2 separate regions of the Homo sapiens genome follow, and region 1 is linked to region 2. Evidence: promoter capture Hi-C in 16 types of primary human blood cells and fetal thymus (Javierre and others, 2016). All regions are on one chromosome and are shown on one strand. The core of a region is centred on a gene start or on the middle of the fragment in contact, and the rest is flanking DNA. Distances in the headings are between cores, read along the strand shown. Region 1 overlaps LIFR-AS1 (LIFR antisense RNA 1). Region 2 holds the start of EGFLAM-AS5 (EGFLAM antisense RNA 5).

Region 1 (3,043 bases), core at 484-2,983, 190 kb after region 2:
CCCAATTTAACAAGCTCCCCTCTACATTTACAGGGCAAACCGTGACTTTTCTCAAGGCCCACAAATTATAGGGAGGCAAAGGGTGGAAAAATCCAGGAAAAAAAAAAAAAAACAACCATACCACCCATACAAACATACCAGATGGAAGGAAAAGATGCCTATAATTCTCGTGGCTTTCAAAGGTATTTATTTAGTTCAGATATTTATGAAACAAACCCTAGAAATTCCAGGTATCTCTCCTAAACAAAAGAACCACGAATGTTTGCTTCTGGTCAGCATGAAAAATTGGTGAAAAACTAGATGTTAGACATAGGTTCATAAGGTAGATCTTTACAGCTCAGATACAGAGCACTGCAGGCACGTTTTCTTACCTAGTTGTCCAAGTCAGCATCAAACTCAGAGTCACCAATGACTCTGACAATGTTCAGGAGATGCTTTTCCTACTGATGTCAAGGGCAAGCTTCCTCCACAACAGCCATACACAAAAAAAGAAGTAAAGATAATTATTCAAATCATGGCACTGCTAAGATTTTCTAACTGATCTGAGCCCCCCAAAGAAATCCTGATTCGGACTATCTGGATTTTACAATGTTATCAGTCGTCAACAGACTTTGCCTTCCTTGAAAGTGCTTCCAATTGTTTCAGTGGCTAAAGGGACCTAAATCAACACTGGCTATAGCAAAGAAAACAAACCACTTATAAACTTTCCCATACCTGCCAAAACTGGAAAGCTATAAATAGGGGGTAGCAAACACTGTTCAAAAATATTTCTCAGGGAGCAAACAGGCGGAAAGGAGTGAATAATTTTCAAAGAAGTAAAGGATTTTTTTTTTTAAAGTTCATTTTGCAACTTGGAATTTCTGCGGCCACAAGGAAGTGAGGAAAACATAACTCAACCGTGATAATATGATTCCTAATGTTATAAGAAGCTAAAATGTTGTGTATGATTTAAGCAATTCCATTGCACACTATATTGATATAGTGTTTCATTATTCTTTGTTATTCCTCTTATTGCTTCTGGGAGAGGCAGGGCTTTTTCAGGATCATTAGCCCTTTCGTACCTTCCTGAAGATAGGCTCATTTTTCCCAAGAGAAAGTTCAGTTTGTCAAGGTTATTTAACATCTGAGCCAGAGCTGAGATTCAAATCCAAAGTTCCATTTCTGTATTCATTTGCACAATAATTTCTTTAATCATGGACTTTGTTATTAAAGCATTTAACTCTACTGTTAAGTGCTCACTGTTGTTCTAAGGAACAGAAAGAAATCTTTGGAGCTGAACAATCTTAAGTTTGAATCTTGTTTCTGCCCTTGCTCATGGTGTGACCTAGAACAAGGGCTTACACTCTCCCTGCCTTGGTTATTCTGGAAGTGGCGCATGCAGCTCCCTTCTTAGAACCTTATGATTAGTTGGTCTGGCAACTGATTCAATGATTAAAAATAAATCAAGTTAGAAAAAAATTCTGAGGGGATAAAATTGTGTCTTTAGTTTACAGAATCCTACCACAGCACGTAATTTCCTCTTTTATAAGTTGAAAATTAAATGAAAGTGTATGTGAAGTGCTTAACATAATGTTTGGCAATAGCAAGTAAGTATTTAATAAATGCTGTAGCTATTTTCAATAATAATAAACACCCTCTGATTAGAATGACAGATAAATCATTTCCTAGATTAAAATGACTTCATTTATATGTGCATATATGAATATCAAATGATAATAAATGGTATACATATGCAAATGAGATCATTCTTCTGATGGACTATTTGATCCAAGAATGTTCGTGAAGCCATGAACTTCATCTTCCTCTTCCATGGCACAGCCTTGGCAACCCCACTTCAAAATAGATGCTTTGTTCATTCCCTCAGCTAGTTTCCTTCCTTCTGTTTGTAATATGAAACATTGCTTTTTGGCTTCTGACCCTGTGAAGGAGGAGAAGACCACAAAGCCAAGAGTATTTGCAGCCTGGAATTAAATGCTGAGGTGGCCCTGGCCTTACATGTGCAACACCTGGGCCTTGCTGAGGTAACCAAAGGACTTGTCACTATTTAAGATGCCCTTCAAAGTCCAAAAGAAATTTAGCAGGACAAAGGACTGACAAACCCCAGCATGTTGTTGAGTTGTTTCCTTACTTTTGAAGGGCATTTTTGGAAACATGTTGTGGTGGCTCACGCCTGTAATCCCAGCACTTTGGGAGGCCGAGGCAGGCGGATCATGAGGTCAAGAGATCGAGACCATCCTGGCCAACATGGTGAAACCCCGTCTCTACTAAAAATACAAAAATTAGCTGGGAATGGTGGCGCGCCTGAAATCCCAGCTACTTGGGAGGCTGAGGCAGGAGAATCGCTTGAACTGGAGAGGCAGAGGTTGCAGTGAGCCAAGATCATGCCACTGCACTACAGCCTGGCTACAGAGCAAGACTCCATCTCAAAAAAAAAAAAAAATGTATTGTGTATGGTCCACTTATATGTACGTTCACTAGATATGGGTGGTTTGTTGTTTGTTTTGAGATGGAGTTTCACTCTTGTCACCCAGGCTGGAGTGCAATGGCACCATCTCCACTCGCTGCAACCTCTGCCTCCTGGGTTCAAGCGATTCTCCAGCCTCAGCCTCCCAAGTAGGTGGGATTACAGGCGCCCGCCATCATGCCCAGCTAATTTTTGTATTTTTAGTAGAAATGAGGTTTCACCATGTTGGCCAGGCTGGTCTCGAACTCCTGACCTCAGGAGATTTGCCCACCTCAGCCTCCCAAAGTGCTGGGATTATAGGTGTCAGCCACTGCACCCAGCCAATATGGGTGGTTTGAATGTTGTTTTTTTCATCCTTTCTTGTCTCAAGATCTGTAAGTCCCAGAAAAGCATGGCTGGAAGGTCTTGCTGTTATTGGAGGTGCTGCTCTCTAAAGGAGATGGGTAAGAAGTTGTGTTAATTTGGGACCTCTAAGAAGCAGATCCTAAAATGAGATTAAACATGCAAGGACTGAATAGGCTGGGAGAGCCATCGACTGCAATGCAAGCTTAGCAGGGAAAGAAGATTGTTGGAAGCTCC
Region 2 (2,975 bases), core at 439-2,938:
GACCCCCTGGCCATAGGTCTTCTCCGACCTTCTTTAACCCTTGGGGCTGGAGGCGAGGTCCATGATGTTCTCAGTGCCCAGCCAGGCCAGGCCTGATGCGAGCAGCACCCGCCCTCCCCCATCGCAATGCGGTGCCCTCTCTTCCCCTTGCCCTCCTTCCACATGCTCCCTGACACTTGGCAGCTGGCCCCGTTGCTGTTCTGAGGAGGAGGGACTGGACCGGCTGGAAGATGGGATCTGTGCCTGGCTTTTGGGTAGCCGCTGTGGGGAGAGCATGTTGAAGGCTGGCCAGGCTCTTGGCTGAAGAGAAAGGTTTGGGGTGTCGCCAGGGAGCTCAGAGGCTAACAGCAGTCCCTGTCCTAGGGAGGAAGGATGGAGTGGGGCACGGGATCCTGAAAAGCTTTTCTCCCACAATCAGGGTCTGAGGAAATTCCCCGGAACCTCCCACATGTTCGAAGCAAGGGTGACCGGGTGTGGGGTGAGGATGTCCTTGCTTTTCCTATTAAGATGGCCTCCCATAACCCTGCATGTTCCTGGAGGCCCCACCTCAGGATTTCTCTCAGGAAGGTCTGTGGGGGTCTTCTGTGTCCCCCTTCTGCGGCTGCCCAGGCAGCTGCCCCGGCCTGCCCGCCGCTCTGAAGGCCGTGCCACTCTCCCACCCTGGTATTTGTCTTTCATTTCCTGACCCAGTCCTGCTCCCTTCTCCCGGCCCTCCAACACAAACAGGCCGGCTGGTGTCCACACACAGACTGCCCTGCTGGCACGGGCACTGGCGCTTTCCTGCTGCTGCCCCCTCTCCTTCCTCCCTGCCCACCTCCTCCCCTGGCCCTGCAGGAGCTGCTACCCCCTCCCTGCGTGGGAGGAAGGAGCTCGGAAAAGCGCCCGGAGTTGGAGCTGGCAGGCCCAGGGCTTTCCACTTGGAGGAAACGCTGCATTTTTCACCTTTAACCCAGAAAAATATGGTTCTCAGAAAGCTTGTTTTTAGCACTGTGAGTTCCCAAAGGAGGAAGAATAGGCAGTAGGGGGGCCCCCAGCCTCTCTGAGCTCCGACAGCAACCCCCACCCCAGAAGGCCGTTCTTCCTGGGAGGGAATGACCGAGGGGCAGCCTGCAGAGGCCCAGCTCCGAGAAAATAAAGGCAGAGAATTCCAGCTCCAAGCGGAAAGACAATACTTTAGGAGAGGAGCCTGGACAAGGCATGAGCCGCTTCCCACCTCCTCCCTGCCTCTTCCAGCTCCTGCCCAGTCCAGGAACGCATAGTAGTTGCCCTTGGAGCTGGGGGTCAGTCCGGGCGTGCCCACCACCGCCCAGACCCTTAGCTGAGAAGGGGGTAAGATTAGCTTATCAAAGGCGGGAACGACGTTCTCCAGCACTTTCTCCCTGCAGTGGGGAGAGAGCTGCCAGCATGGAATCAAAATTAGAATCTGAAATCAGGGGTCGTACAGCTTTAGCCCACTCCCACGTTATTTGTCAACATGGAGATGTGGGTCGTCCGACGGTATCCGAACTAGGGACTTATCCGGCACACGCTAAACAGAGAAGGGAAATGTAAGCAGCCCTACCTCAACCATTGTGAGGCCAGAAGTCCCAGGGCTGCCGGCATTTAAGCTGGTGGGTCCCGTGGAAGTGACAGGCTGCCGTAAGGAAGTTCCAGCTTACAGGTGGCTATGTTCGGGCCAGCAAAATGACTAATCCAATGCAACAGCATCAGCTGGCTTCTGGGCTAGGCCCTGTGAGTAACCGCACCGCAACCTCACAGTCAAAGAATGTTCACATATTTGATCTTCATAACAGTCCTCCTCCTATGATGGCTGGAGCAGATGGGCATGGCCTATTTGACTTAGGAAGACAGACACTGGCCACAAAGACTGGGTGACTTGCCCATGGTCCCATCACGAGGACGCAGCCACGATGCTGTCCCGTGGAGCTTTTCTGCCCTCACCCTGACCTCTGGTCAGGTGCAGTCTGCCCAGGGACACCCGCATTGTTGAGGGACATTCTGAGGCTCCCTTGGGTTAGCTGTCGTCTGCAGTATAGTCGTGTAAGTGAGGGAGATTCGGACAAAGGCCATGTCCCAAGAGTCTGCTTGCCAACGCATGCCAGTTTCTCATCACAGCCCTGAATCTGCCTTCTTTCAAAGGCCTTCTGTTGCAGGGACTCTGGGTTGAGCAAATCTGAAAGCAGAAACTAAAGAGCTAGTCCAGCAGGGTGGGATTCAGGCCCCTCTACGGGCAACTGGGTGTAGGTTAAATTCTTTTCCCTTCCCTCCTTTGCTTTCATCTCCACAAATAACCTCCATAACCCTGGGGAGTGGTTGCAAGCTATTTCTGCCCAGCAGCGTGTTCCCCTGGGCCCCTGCCTCGCCCCAGCCAAGCCACGAGCTGAAAGAACAGGGAAGGCAGCTGGGAAAGGCCTCCCCTGCCGCTCCTCTTCTTCCCGCTTGCTCTTGCTGAGGCATCTTTGTCCTAGAAAGTTCGTAGCTCCCAGGAGCACTTGCCATTTCCTGGAAAGACGGGAGAGAGAACATTATGTCTCAGCCCCTGGGAGGATGTCTCTTCTTTTCTATTTATCCATCTTGTCTTTCAGTTTTGCTCAAGATGCAAATGGTGTCCAGAGGCATAGAAATTTCCCAGCATGTGGCATGGCCTCCCCCGATGTCCCAGCTGCTCACCTACAAGCCAGGGCCCAGCCCGGGGCTATGACCTCCCCGAACAGCCTGCTGCCAAGGGGCTGCAGTTCTGACTTGGCTAGGAGAGGACTTGAGTTGGAATGTCTCTTCGAAGGAAGGCCAGGGAGGCTCAAGAAATTTGCCGTTTATACTCACTTAATAACAAAAGTAAGAGGCACCAGGCCAGGGGCTTAGCTAAGGAAAGCCCTGTTAGGAAATTGGCCAAAAGAAAGCGGAGGCAGAGAAAATGGACTATGAGGCAGAGAGAGCTGTGGGAGGAGAGGGGTATGGGGCCGCAGGGGTCGCAA

The links. The method cuts DNA at HindIII sites, captures the fragments that hold promoters and counts their contacts. A CHiCAGO score of 5 or more calls a contact.
Region 1: a fragment that was not itself captured here is called in contact with the fragment with the promoter of EGFLAM-AS5 in region 2 in 1 of 17 cell types (endothelial precursors); the score reaches 5.0 in endothelial precursors.

The regions. Positions count from the first base shown.
Region 1 is chr5:38,661,606-38,664,648 of GRCh38, forward strand. All of the region lies in intron 8 of LIFR-AS1 (LIFR antisense RNA 1), which reads left to right. Among named protein-coding and RNA genes, the nearest start is that of LINC01265, 57 kb to the right of the region's middle. The HindIII fragment of the contact is 2,551 bases long and covers 459-3,009 here.
Region 2 is chr5:38,466,678-38,469,652 of GRCh38, forward strand. It overlaps EGFLAM-AS5 (EGFLAM antisense RNA 5), which reads right to left and starts at 1,689. Exons shown (of 2, transcript NR_199676.1): 1 at 1,562-1,689. RefSeq lists enhancers at 1-788, 2,156-2,975. The HindIII fragment of the contact is 4,194 bases long and covers 973-2,975 here.